4 separate regions of the Homo sapiens genome follow, and regions 1, 2 and 4 are each linked to region 3. The links are contacts of gene promoters, found by promoter capture Hi-C in blood cells and fetal thymus (Javierre and others, 2016). All regions are on one chromosome and are shown on one strand. Each heading gives the region's core, a stretch centred on a gene start or on the middle of the fragment in contact. The rest is flanking DNA. Distances are from core to core; before and after follow the strand shown.

What was found. Contacts are between HindIII fragments. The CHiCAGO score rates a contact against its expected background, and 5 or more counts as called.
Region 1: a fragment that was not itself captured here is called in contact with the fragment with the promoter of ZFAT in region 3 in 6 of 17 cell types (fetal thymus, naive CD4 T cells, M0 macrophages and 3 more); the score reaches 7.2 in fetal thymus.
Region 2: a contact is called between a fragment that was not itself captured here and the fragment with the promoter of ZFAT in region 3, in 4 of 17 cell types (fetal thymus, total B cells, naive CD4 T cells and 1 more). The highest score is 6.8, in fetal thymus.
Region 4: a contact is called between a fragment that was not itself captured here and the fragment with the promoter of ZFAT in region 3, in 3 of 17 cell types (naive CD4 T cells, monocytes and megakaryocytes). The highest score is 8.1, in naive CD4 T cells.

Annotation. Positions count from the first base shown.
Region 1 is chr8:133,556,783-133,560,035 of GRCh38, reverse strand. All of the region lies in intron 1 of ST3GAL1 (ST3 beta-galactoside alpha-2,3-sialyltransferase 1), which reads left to right. Among named protein-coding and RNA genes, the nearest start is that of ST3GAL1-DT, 12 kb to the left of the region's middle. The HindIII fragment of the contact is 1,310 bases long and covers 624-1,933 here.
Region 2 is chr8:133,523,265-133,526,243 of GRCh38, reverse strand. All of the region lies in intron 2 of ST3GAL1 (ST3 beta-galactoside alpha-2,3-sialyltransferase 1), which reads left to right. Among named protein-coding and RNA genes, the nearest start is that of ST3GAL1-DT, 46 kb to the left of the region's middle. RefSeq lists an enhancer at 2,418-2,587. The HindIII fragment of the contact is 666 bases long and covers 1,377-2,042 here.
Region 3 is chr8:134,710,860-134,714,290 of GRCh38, reverse strand. It overlaps ZFAT (zinc finger and AT-hook domain containing), which reads left to right and starts at 1,260. Exons shown (of 16, transcript NM_020863.4): 1 at 1,260-1,446. The coding sequence starts at 1,428. RefSeq lists an enhancer at 1,249-1,428. The HindIII fragment of the contact is 8,105 bases long and covers 1-1,977 here.
Region 4 is chr8:133,577,867-133,581,135 of GRCh38, reverse strand. No RefSeq gene overlaps it. Among named protein-coding and RNA genes, the nearest start is that of ST3GAL1, 7.6 kb to the right of the region's middle. The HindIII fragment of the contact is 2,348 bases long and covers 531-2,878 here.

The DNA.
Region 1 (3,253 bases), core at 29-2,528, 1.2 Mb after region 3:
TAGAACCTATTCCTCCTATCTGTAATTTTGTTTCCTTTAACTGCTCCACATCCGTCCCTGCATGGCTGCTTGCAAGAACTCATCTTTGTGGCTTGTTGTTATAAATTGAATTCGAAGAGCCCCAAGGTGCCTGGGGATTGAGGGAGGCGGTGAGCCACTTTGAGCCTGCCGGGGGGTTTGGAGAAAGGACTGAGCAGGAAGGCTGAGTGCAAAGTTTGCAATCAGGCGTGTAAACTTAGCCAGCTCCCTAGCTAGATGGGAGCCTCTTGGAGGCAACCTGCTTCACGTAAAAGGAATCGTCAGCGTCGCTGTTGCAACCTTGGAAAATTCCCTTTTAATAACATCTTCACAATGGAGAGAAAGGTTTGTTGTTCTTCTTCTTACTTGAAAACACTGTTAATCCTACCACCTGGTGGAGAGTTTGATGAATAAAGACCGTTGCTCAGGAAACATGTTAGCTGCCACGAATAGGAATGTCTTTGTGAGGTGTATTACTGGTTGTTTCTAAAACATAATCTTATGTTTTAAAATTCAGTCTTTTGGCAAAAAAAGGAAATTAAAATGAAAGGGAGAGATTAGGCAGACAGTACCATCGTTCTTTCTTTCACCACCTGATAGAAGCTTCAAATGGAAAACACACCTTTCAGAATGGGTTGAAGAACTGGTTCCAACCTAAGGTCTGCTGCTATTTTCTGTTTCTCCCTGCGACCTGGAACAAACTGAGCTCAGCAAACATGATCCTTGGACCACAGTAAGTCCTCATTTAATGACATCGATAGGTCCTTGGAAATTGTGAGTTTAAGGGAAACGACATAAAAAACTGATTTCACCATAGGGTAACTGATATAAACAAGAGTTAAGTATCTCTGATGTATTTCTGTTCATAAAAATATCACCAAACTTCTAAATGAAGGCCCCAAACAGCATCGCAGGTGGCCACAGCCTGTCCCAGTGGCTTAGGACGTGCACACATGCACACACACACACACACACACACACAAAACCACACTCTATCGCCCTGGGACCACATAAACACAGCAGTTCACCTGATATGCACAGCTTTTTGGGGTGTGGGAAACTGGAGTGCCTGGAGAAGACCCACGAGGACATGAGGAAAACTTGCAAACTCCACACACACAGTGGTCCCGGCCGGGAATCCGTATTCTTCTCATCAATGTTATAATGAAATGCTGTTGAATGAAACAGCATTATTGGAAGACCTGCGGCATAGGATTTTATACATTAAACTGACATTTATGCAATGTCAGAAATCCAAACAAGGAGAAAAAAATATACTGGCTGTGGAGACAGTTTTGAATATCAGAATACTTCTGCATTGTCAGGAACCTGCCCCGGATGGAGTAAAGGAGGTTTTCTCTTTTTCTCTGAGCCATGGTGTCATAAACTTTAGTCACCATTACTTGCGGGAGGACGGGGGCATGGTATGTTGGTTGAATAATTAGTTACAGAGGTTGCACACTTAAATAGTGTCAAAGAATTATAAAATCTTAGCATTTGCAAAGAGCCTTTGCAGTAACCTTGTTCAACCTTCTTCTATCTACTGAGTCTTTCATTGATTCCTTGATTTACTCATAAAAGTATTAGCTCTGCCACTGCCTAACTGCGTGTCCTTCAGCAAGTTGCTGAACCTCTCTGTACTTCCCTTTCCTCATCCATAAAATCTGGATAACAATGGTACCTACCTCCCAGGAGGTAATAAATAAGCATTCAATGAGTTAACACTTGGACCGTGCTCAGAAGAGTCCTTGTTAAAGATATGCTGTGGCAACACATCATCATCAATTACATTCTTGTTCCGCCTCCTTGAGCTGCATTTTTCACTACCTGTGGTAGGGAGCTCTGTGCCCCACACAGTGGTGTTTTGACCTCTGGGCAGCTTTGCGGTTTAGAAGGCTCTTTCTCATTCAAAGCTTCCAACCAGAGAGCGCTTCCTGGAGCAGATGGCAGAATGGTGCTCTTAGGAGCTATCTGAATTTAAGGATGGGAAAGTTGTCTGGGCTGTGAAGCTAGGGTATCATCACTGGACATCAGAGGCACAAGAGACATACCTAAGATTTTAGCCATGAGGGGGACCTCAAGACACTGGCCTCTTTTTTTTTTTTTTTTTTTTGAGACGGAGTCTCACTCTGTTGCCCAGGCTGGAGTGCAGTGGCATGATCTCAGCTCACTGCAACCTCCGCCTCCCAGATTCAAGCAATTCTCCTGCCTCAGCCTCCTGAGCTCACTGCAACCTCCACCTTCTGGATTCAAGCAATTCTTCCGCCTCAGCCTCCTAAGTAGCTGGGATTACAGGCACGCGCCACCACGCCTGGCTAATTTTTGTATTTTTAGTAGAGACAGGGTTTCACCATGTTGGTCAGGCTAGTCTCAAACTCTTGACCTCATGATCTGCCTGCCTTGGCCTCCCAAAGTGCTGGGATTACAGGTGTGAGTCAGACCACGGCCTCTTTATTTTACAGCCGAGAGGACAGCACAGACAGGGCCTGGCTGGTGCGACAGCTCAACCCATCATCAGGCAGAACCTGGATAGGAGGCCAGCCCGTGGGGTGATACTGCCAAGGCCTGCATTACCACTCAGTTATCCTCTCATCTTGGGCTGCTCAGGGTGCCCTAGAGAACATGCCTTCTGTGCCCTCCTGCACTAGAGCAGGCAGGAAGAGCAGCCTGGACCATGGGTACCACATATCCTATGAGGACCCCATTGTGCCACGCGTTGGTTGACTGGATGACTTCCACTGTGTTTACACTGCACAGTCTCCTCACTTCCTTTAGACCTCCCGGTGAGCAAGCTTGTATTGTCTTTTGTGAATTCTGGCATCTGCCTCCCCTCTTTTTCTTCCTGAGGTTCTGCCCAGGAAATACCACATACTGGTCATTCTAGGCCCATTCACTGTCTAATCAGGCTTTGAGCTTGCTAGTGCTATCAGTGTTTTACAGCTGAGAAGGCTGGCTCGCTGAGGTTGGCCATTGCCTGAAGGTCTCCCAGGTTGGGAGGGTCAGGTTGGGGGGTTGTCACATACCCCTTTCCACCATGTCACAATGTTTCCTTCTAACACATGCATGCACATCATAAAAGGCTCGAGACCCAGTATATCTGGTCTCCCTGCCTGCATTAATAGCACCGCTGCCAACCTCCCTCCCACTTCCCTCCACTTAGTTTTATCATCTAAGAGGCCAAAAGAACAAAATGTCCCCCCTCCACCACACCATATTTCAAAGGGCTATAAATAGG
Region 2 (2,979 bases), core at 460-2,959, 1.2 Mb after region 3:
GGATGGGTAGAGTTGCCATGTTTGCAAAGGTGGGCATCCTCAGCTCTTGAGCTTGCCTGAACGCAGGCTGCCTGGAGCCTGACCCAACTTTCCTAATTCATGGCTACCTTTGTGAGCTGAAAGAATTGTCAGTGATGGCAGCAGTGGCCTATCTGGAGCAGCTGCTGTGGGGATGCCAGCTGCAGCAGGGGAGGCATAGCTGGGGCTGCATGCTCCACAGAGCTGGCAGGGACCAGGAACAGGTGGGAACCCTGCCTTCTATCAAGTTGGCAGGGCAGGAGCCCTGAGCTCCCAGGCACAGCTGCAGCTACCTAGCCACAGCTCTGGACCCAGGCATCCCTCTGCTCTTGGGGACCCAGGAAGCCCCCCTGTCATGCAGGCTTGTAATTGCCTGCTCCCGCTCCCTGGCATCTCACCACTCCCAGTGTCCACTCTGATTTTTGGAGCAAAGTTGAAACTGAGCCTGGGTGCTGTCGCAACCCAGCTGGGTGTGTATGTACTCTGGGTGGTGTTGACATGCCAGACCCCTGTCATCTTGGCCCCCTCCAGACTTTGGTCACCGACAGGCACAGGAGGGAAGCCAAGAGGAGACTGAGGGCAGCTCAGTGCAGGCCTGCAGGCGTCCCTCAGCATGCACAGCCTGGGTGCTGTGGATGCCATGTTGATGGTAGCAGGAGGCAGACAGGCTCCTGGGCAGAAAGGGGCAGGTCCCAGGTGAAACACCACCTTCAACCCAGGGACAGCCTGAAGCCTGGGGGCCAGGCTGCCAGTTCCAGGGGGAGTCCATGGCCTAGAGGAAGAACTTATGGTGCTTTATCCAAGCCCATCCATGGCCATCCATGGACCAATCAGCACACACTTCCTCCCTTCTGAGCCCATAAAAACCCTGGACTCAGCCAGACATGTAGGTGTCAGGACTACCAGCTGCAGGAAGGAGCTACCCACTCTGGGTCTCCTTGACTCTTTGGGATGACCTAACTGCAGAAAGGAGCTACCCACTATGTGTCTTCTCTGCTGAAAGCTTGACATTCACTGGGACGACCTGCCTGTGGAAACGAGCTACCCACTGCAGGTCTCCTGAAAGCTGTTCTGTCACTCAGTGAGGCTCCTCTCTGCCTTGCTCACCCTCCAGTTGTCTGCATACCTCATTCTTCCTGGACATGGTACAAGAACTCAGGACCCGCTGAATGGTGGGACTGAAAGAGCTGTAACACAAACAGGGCTGAAACACACCCTCCTCCCTCCATTCACCACGTTGCAGGTGACAAGAAGGAGAGAAGAGCTGTGGCCCGTTGGGAAGCCCAGATCTAGGGGCTCCCCAAGCCAGGGCTGTGACACCTTCTTTGGGACTGCACAGTTCCTGGTGTCTCCAAGCTTCCGGGTGCCACCGTGTTCTCCTAGAACATTTCTAGATGTGTTACTTAGGAATGTGGCAGCTGTCTTGCTTCTTCATCCAGACATGGGTCCAGAAATGGGTGCCTGCAGCAGAAGCCATGTGTGGTACATCTGGTCCAGCCACAGACTCACATGGAGCTGGCACCTGTGCCAGTGCCCGGAGCTGTCCATCCTGTCGCAGCAACCAGCGTACCTGGCTGTGCACAGTGGCTGGACCCTGTGCTAGCTCACCCACACACCCCTTGCTGCTTCACGCCTGGCTTGCCCTTAGCAGGTGTGTGATCTAGGCTGGTAGCATAAGCTGAGCACAACCTGTTGGGCCAAGTGGGTGACATGAGCCCAGCAGGCATGAGCAATACTCAGGTAGAAGGCGCTGCTGGCCACAGAGGTGTCTGGCTGGCAAAGTGACACCCAAGGATCCTGTGACATCAGGATCTGCTCACCTGCAAAATGCTGGTCTCACCTGGGGCTGTAGTGTTGCCTGGTTGTTGAGAGCTCTGTCTCTAGGGGACAATGCCTGGGTTTGTGTCCTGGCTCTACCACTTTCTAGCTGGGAGACCTTGCACAAGTTCTTAACTCCTTTGTGTTTCACATTTTCATCTGAAAAATTGGGGTAATAATAGCTCATTCAGTCTTCATTAAAAGCTTAAGAGGTAGGTTTTTTAATTATTGTTCCAGGCTTTGCTTGAGCTGAGAGGGCCAGCGAGAGTCAAGGTATAGGAGCAATTGAGCAGAGAGAGTGTATCAGTCAGTTTTTGCTGTGTAACAAAACCATGAAATGGCATAAGAGCATTCATTCAGATTTCATAGGTCTGTGGGTCACATGTGGTGGTTCTGGCTTAGTCTTTGAGTTGAGTTGGCCCTGACTGGAGGGTCACAGGCTGCCTGAAGCATGTTTTTCTCATAATGGAGGTCAGAAGCTCCCCGAAGGACACAAAGCTCTTATGATTATGGTTCTGAACTGGCATCTTGACACTTCTTCCCACATTCCATTGGCTAAAGCGTGTCACAACATCCAGTGGGTGAAAAAATACACTCCCACTTCGAGAGACGAGGACGAGGGATAGAGACCCTTGTGGCTCCCATACCCAGCCTTCTGCCAGTCCGTTTGTACTTGTTCTCCAGCAAGAAGCTCAACAGACATTTGTCAATTGGTCATAAATCTGGTACCTAGGAATGGTGCTGACCTCTTGCAGGCCTCCAGGGAGGTCCTGAGAGTCCCATGAGAGTCGACTTTGCTTTGTCACAGAGCAGGACAAGTGGCCATTCCATCTGCAATAAGACCCTTCTAAATGCTCTGCAGGAACTCCTGATGCATCCTTCCAGTGCCCCTTTGAAGTAGCTGCCACTTTAAGCATCACCATCTTCACTTTACAGAGGAGGAAATGAAGGCACAGGGAGGTTGAGTTACTTGCCTGAGGGTGCCCAGCAAAGTGGGCAGAGCCAGATTGAGGCTCAGGTGGTTTGGCTGTGGAATCTCTGTACTGCTTCTAAGGGTGGAGAAAGCAACAGCTGCACACCTTTGTGACTTGTGCTAGGACAGAGGTGTGCATGGGGGTGTGGCAGTGTCTGTGAATTGAGACC
Region 3 (3,431 bases), core at 11-2,510:
GAAGTGTGAACTTCAGGGCTGTCCGAGAATTTCATGTTGAGCAGCAACCAAAGAGGGTTATTCCAGGAAAAGAAGAACAGGCAAAGACTAGCATTTCAGGGGAACCATGAACACAAATCAGTTTCCCAAACTTCAGTCTCCTGAAGTCTGCTTTTACACTTTTTTTTTTTGGGGGGGGGGGGGCATGTCTTTGCAGCATGTACACCATTTTAAGTTGACTGATTTTTGAAAATGTAAACGAACAATTTAAAAACTTTATATGACTACTGTAAGTGAAAAACGTTATTTGTCATGAACAGAAAATGACCTTAGAACATGGACCACATCAACTCATTACTCATGAAATAAATAACTGTCAGGCTCAGTTTGTTTCTGAGGCTAACGGGGTGACCATTGACAGAGGTAAGGGAGGGAGATAATGACAGATAGGAATGGATGCTACGTAGAAAATATGAAGTGTCTTGGAGGGTTACTTTAGATGGGTTTCGGGGGGTGAGGGTTAGGGGCTGGAAGATATCATTTGAGCCGAGGACTACAGTGTTGGAGCTAAACACCTTAACATCAAAACCAAAAACAAAGTCATTAAATTTCCACCAGACTCAGCTGCCTGCCGAAGGCTGTGCCACAAGCAGAGAAATGAATGAGCGGGTGTTGGAGGCGCGCACATCCAGTGCAGACTTGTTGTGGGACAAAAAGAGACGAGAGAGGAGGAAGTCGCCTTGTCACGTGTGATCGTAGGCCGCTCAGTGCTCTGTAGCCCCTAAAACCCAGCCGGGTGGCCCAAAGGAAAGCACCCCACGCTTCGGGAAACGCCGCAGCTTTGAGCGGGATGCAGGTTGGGAGCACCCCGATGGACACATCAGTAAACTGAGAGCAAGAAAAGTTAATTCGCTGCCCCAAGTTAGGTAGTGAGAGGTAGAGCTGGGACACGAAGCGCACCCAGAACTCTCCTTGCACGCCCAGCTCGGCGGCCCCACATGCCGCGGGTCTAGGGTCGCGCTAGCAGAGGCCTGGCACAACCGCCAGACTCCTGACCCCGAGATCCGCGCTCCGGACCTCCCGAGGGCCCCTCCCTGGGCGTGGCTCAAAACGCGGCGCAGCGGAATCCGTGAAGTGGGATAAAAAGCACGGCCTCCGACTGCGAGCATGCGCGTTAGCTCGGCCCTGCCGGGCCGCGCTCGGCGCCGGGGGAGGGTCACCCGAAGCGGACGTCCGCTACGCAGGCGTCTGCGCCCCGTGGGGAGGAGGGCGAAGACTCCATCCGCCATGTTGGATGCCGCAGATTCGCCATAACCTCGCCGGCTCTTTTCTTAAAAAAATAAAAATAAAAAGCGAAGCGTCAGCAGGGCGCCCCGCCCCCTCGGTCGGCACGGGAGGGGGCCCGGAAGAGCCCGAGGCTTTTTTTTCCTCCGCGGTGGGGCGTTGCCATGGAGACGCGGGCGGCAGGTGAGCCGGGCTGGGGGTTGGGGTGAGACGGGGTGGGGGTGGGGCGCGGCGCGGCGCGCGGAAAGCCGTTTCGAGCGTCGAGTCGGGAAGCAGTGCGCCGGCCGCCGGCCGCCGGCCGCCGGCCGCGGAGGGATCCGGGTCTGGGGAGGAGAGCGAACGTAGTTGCGTTCTGCGGCTCACGTTCAGTCGCTGGGGTATCCCGCCGCAAAAAAAAAAAAAAAGCAAGGCGGGAGCGAGTGGGAGAGCATGCGCCCGGCCGTTTCCACGGCAATGGGTGGCGTTGGGGCGCGGGCCAGCGACGGAACGCAGTGGGCGCGAGGTTCGAATCCCGGCGATGCCAGCTCTTTGACTGGACCTTGGCGGGGCTTCCTTCTTGCCTGGCCTCGGATTCCTCCTTGGCGAAATGAGTACCTCCTGCAGGCTTCCCGGCCGCCGGCTGGACCTAATAGAGTGACAGATCTTCCACTTGACACCCGGTGCAAGTCATTTAACCTTGAGCTTGGGGTCCTTCACCTGTAATTACCACAAGCTTCCACATTTGGGCACTGACTTAACACGTTTTGCTGCTCAGCTCTCTTGAGAACTCTAATTTGTAGGTCATTTATTATGAGGAACAGAAGTTCAGAGAGGTCAACTTTACACAGTTTAAAAACGACAGAGCTGGGGCTTTAAAAATTAACTTCCTCCAACTTGGGCTAAAATCCAAACTCCTGCGTGCTCGCCTGACTTGTACCTCCATCTTCTTAGAATAGGGCTTGGCTCATGTAAGTGTTCACTATATACTTAGTGAATGAAAGAACGAACGCGCTAACTGATCACGCCTGCCCATCAGTCTGGCTTTTTTTGCTGGAGTCCAAGTGACCTTTTGGAGATGCCCCGCACAGCTGCCTCTCACCAGCTTTATCTTCCGAGCCTACCAGTTCATCTACTGAAACATCTGTAGTGTGTGTCCCCATGCTGAAGGAAGTAGCGTGTCCTACCTCTAACCCCCAGGGACACCTTTCCTGACTTTAGTTCAAATAACAGCTTTGCAAGGATCCCCTCTGCACGCCAGGCAGGGGTAAAGAGCAGTCCCAGTCGTAGTCCTGCCTCCACCTGCTGCGGTGCTAGATGTGGGAGAATGTGTCCTGGAGTGACAGAGTGGGCCCAGAGCCGAATATTGGGTCAGGAGACCCGAACTATATCAGGCGTGCTTTTTTTTAATTTAATTTTTTTAATTTTTTGGGACAGAGTCCCGCACTATCACTCAGGCCGGGGTGCAATGGTGCAATCTCGGGTCACTGCAACCTCTGCCTCCCGCCCTCAGGTAAACCTCCCGCCTCAGCCTGCCAAGTAGCTGTGACCACAGGTGCGCTGATTAGCTGTGGTGCCCAGCTGATTCAGGTGTGCTGTCTTAGGTTAGCCTAAAATGAGCACCGGAGAGACTTGCTCTCCAAATACAGGTTGAGCATCCCTAATCCAAAAATCCGAAATCGGAAATGCTCCAAAGTCTGAAACTTTGAGCACTGACATGAGGCCACAGTGGAAAATTTTCTATCTGACCTCGTGAAGGTTCTCAGCAGAAATGCAGTTCCATAGCCGGGCGCAGTAGCTCACGCCTGTAATCCCAGCACTCTGGGAGTCTGAGGCGGGAGGGTCCCTTGAGTCCAGGAGTTCAAGACCAGCCTGGGCAGTGTAGTGAAACCCCATCTCTATTTTTCTCAAAAAACAAAACAAAACAACAGTTGCACAACTGTAAAGACGATGCTGTTAACACTCAGAAAGAAATGCAGGCTGAACAGCAGACTTAAAGCCAGCCGTTGTTTATTGTTCTGTTGTTTAGCAGCTGATGCATGTGTTCTGGTGATGCTGCTGTGCCGCTTAGGTACCTTGAACACCTTGTTTTTCACTGTATTAATGGTGTGTCATATTTTTTACTGGTAAGGACTTATGTGTAAATAAATGTAAGAAAGTGATTGTCTTATTGGTAGCATAGAAATTCAGAG
Region 4 (3,269 bases), core at 455-2,954, 1.1 Mb after region 3:
TAGCTACCTTAGGGAAAATTAGAAGTTGCTGAAGGTCTAGCTTTTTGGAAATCAAACTTAAATCCATTTACATGAAAAAAGGGGACAGGAGTCTGCTTCTGAGAACACCATAAAGAAAAGGATGAAAAGGGTTTCCAGGGCTGCCCGTCAGCTGGAGCTACAGAGAATGGAAGCCATCTGCTCCAGAGGTGGGCATGGAGATGTTGGTGTCCCTGGTTTAGTGGGTTGAATAATGTTCCTGAAATGTTCATGCTTACCAGGATCCTCAGAATTTGACCTTATTTGGAAATAGGGTATTTGCAAATGTAATTGGTTAAACAAGTTGAGATGAGGTCATATAGAAAGGCACGGGACAGTTTCTCTCTGAGTCTCCAGCAGGAACTAACTTTTGCAACACCTTCATTGCAGCCTCCTGAACTGTGAGAAAATAAATTTCTGCTGTTTCTGGCCACACAGTTTGTAGTAGTTGGTTATGGCTATCCTAGGAAATGCATATATCTGGGCCAGCTGGACCTTATGGCAAGGAAGCTTAGGAACCATGATCCTTATGGATCTCGCAGCCCAGGACAGTGGGAGGCTCTGCAGAAGCAGTGAGGATTGCCAGGAGTCAGAGTTTCCTCACACCAGGCCCTGCATTAGCCCTCTGGACTTCTGTATATCTTGGGGGCTTCACCAGCCCAGCAAGATAGAGATCTATGTTGATTTTAAGAACATAACATATAAGTTAACCAGAGCTTCTGGGCCAAGCTATGCCTGCTAGTAGAGGGTTTGTAAAGAGGAGTATTAGAAGGAAACAAGTGAGAAACACACGTTGGGACCACACCGAGGGTCTTAACTGCTAGACTCAGAAATCTGGACTTACACCCCTAGGCAATGGGAAGCCACAAATGTTTTAAAGGGTTAGAGCTTGGAAATGACTTGAGGGAAGGAGAGGGGCTTCGGGACAATCAATCTAACTGTCGTTATCAAGGGTTTTGTTGCAAGTAACAGAACTATGACCTAAAGTGGAGTAAGCAAAAGAATTTTATTGACTCATGAAACAGAAAGTCCAGAACAGACTTCATGCATTAGTGTGATTACGACTCTGAACCTAATGTCTTTATTTGGCTTTCTTCATGGGCACAAAGATGCCTCCCAGAGCAACTGTGTTAAAAATGCTCTTTTGTTCATGTCCAGTTAGAAATAAGCTATATTCAGGGCTTACTCTTAGAAACTTTTTTCCTAGAAGACTCAATATATTTATCTCTTTATCTTGGTGGTCCAAGTAGGGATTAAAGCTATTCATTCATGAGCTGATTTTTGACAAAGAGATTAGGGTGGGCAGGATGGACTGAGACTAACCAGATGGCTTAGCATAGATTTCGGGTCTAAGACCATCAGGAGTGGCTTAATGACAGAGACACATTCCAAGAAAAGCGTCATTAGGCAATTTAATGGCTATGCAAACCTCACAGAGTTCACTGTAATACAGCCTCAGGCAGGACCTTCAGGATGTGTTCCAGGGAAAGGCACTGTTACCTTAGGGGATGGCAACTCCATGCAGGTTATTGCCCTTAAAGACCTTCCTGTGTTTCAAGATATGCAGTGAAAGACAGTGATATTGATGACTGACGCTGTGTGGGCCCAAGCTGATGTGAGTGTTTGTGTCTTAATTTTACCAAAAAAGTTGGAAAAGTAAATGAATAAATAATTTGTAAATAGAAAAAACTTGTGAAATAGGGATATAAAGAAAATATTTTTAGGCTGGGTGCAGTGGTTCATGCCTGTAATCCTAGCACTTTGGGAGGCTGAGGTGGGTGGATCACCTGAGGTCAAGAGTTCAAGGCCAGCCTGGCCAACATGGCGAAACCTCGACTTTACTAAAAATACAAAAATTAGCCTGGCCTGGTGGTGTGCACCTATAATGCCAGCTACTCGGGAGGCTGAGGCAGGAGAATCGCTTGAACCCGGGGAGCGGAGGTTGCAGTGAGCCAAGATGATGCCACTGCCATCCAGCCTGGGCAAAAGAGTGAAACTCCAATACCAAAAAAAAAAAAAAAAGAAAAGAAAATGAAAATATTTTTAGTGCAGCTGTTCAATGTGTTTGTATTTTAAGCTAAGTTTTATTACAAAAAAGTCAAAAAAGTTTAAAAAGTGTATAAAGTAAGAAAAGTAACAACAAGCTAGGGTTAATTTATTATTGAAGAAAAACACATTTTTATAAATTCAGTGTAGCCCAAGTGTAGTGTTCATAAAGTCTACAATAGTATACGGTAATGTCCTAGGCTTTCACATTCACTCACCACTCACTCACTGACTCAACCTAGAGCAACTTCCAGTAACGCATGCTCCACTTATGGTAAGTGGCCTATACAGGCATACCGTTTTTATCTTTTATACTGTTTTTCTATAGTACCTTTTCTATGTCTAGATATGTTTAGATACATACATACATACCTACCATGGAGTGACGATTGCCTACAGTATTCAGTACAATAACATGCTGTACAGGTTTGCAGCCTAAGAGGAATAGGCTAAACCATATAGCCCAGGTGTGCAGTAGGTTTTACCATCTATATTCGCATAAGTACACTATGATGCTGGCACAGGGATGAAATTGCCTAACAACACATTCCTCAGAACGTATCCCCATCACTAATAGACTCATAACTATGTCCATGGTGGTTTGCTTCATTTGTTTCTTTTTTCTTTTTCTTTTTTTTTTTTTTTTTTTTTTTTTTGTGCTTTGAAGCTCCAGCTCAAAGGGTTTTTTGAATCCTGGTTTTGCTTGTAGGCAGATAATGCACCATGAACTTTCCTCTCTATTAGTGAAAACCTTTCAGTTTTGGGGTCCATGTTTTCAGACTTCTTAAGGAGCTTGTTGGAGACTGAAGAAGCTTCTGCTAAACCCATCACTGTGAGTATTCTTGGGAGTTCTTTTTTCCCTTCTCCTGCACTTTCTTTTTCTTTACCTCTTCTTCAGCTATGCACTCCTATTCCAGTTCCAACAGCAACCCATTAGTCAATTCCTCAGGAACCCCCTCTAGGAATTACTCAATGTCATCCACATCCACACCCAGGTTAAAGTAGTTTGCCATCTCAACCACAGCCTTCTTGATTTTTGCAACTTCCTCATCCTTGGCAAATCCTTTGAAGTTATTGACAAACCTCTTGCGTGTCTTCTTCCAGGTGCCATTCCTACAGTCCTTAGCGACATAATCCAAGCCTAAACAAGGTTCTTGATGCTGTTCAGAATTTCATCAGAGTCTTCTCAGTGTCTTCCTCCACTG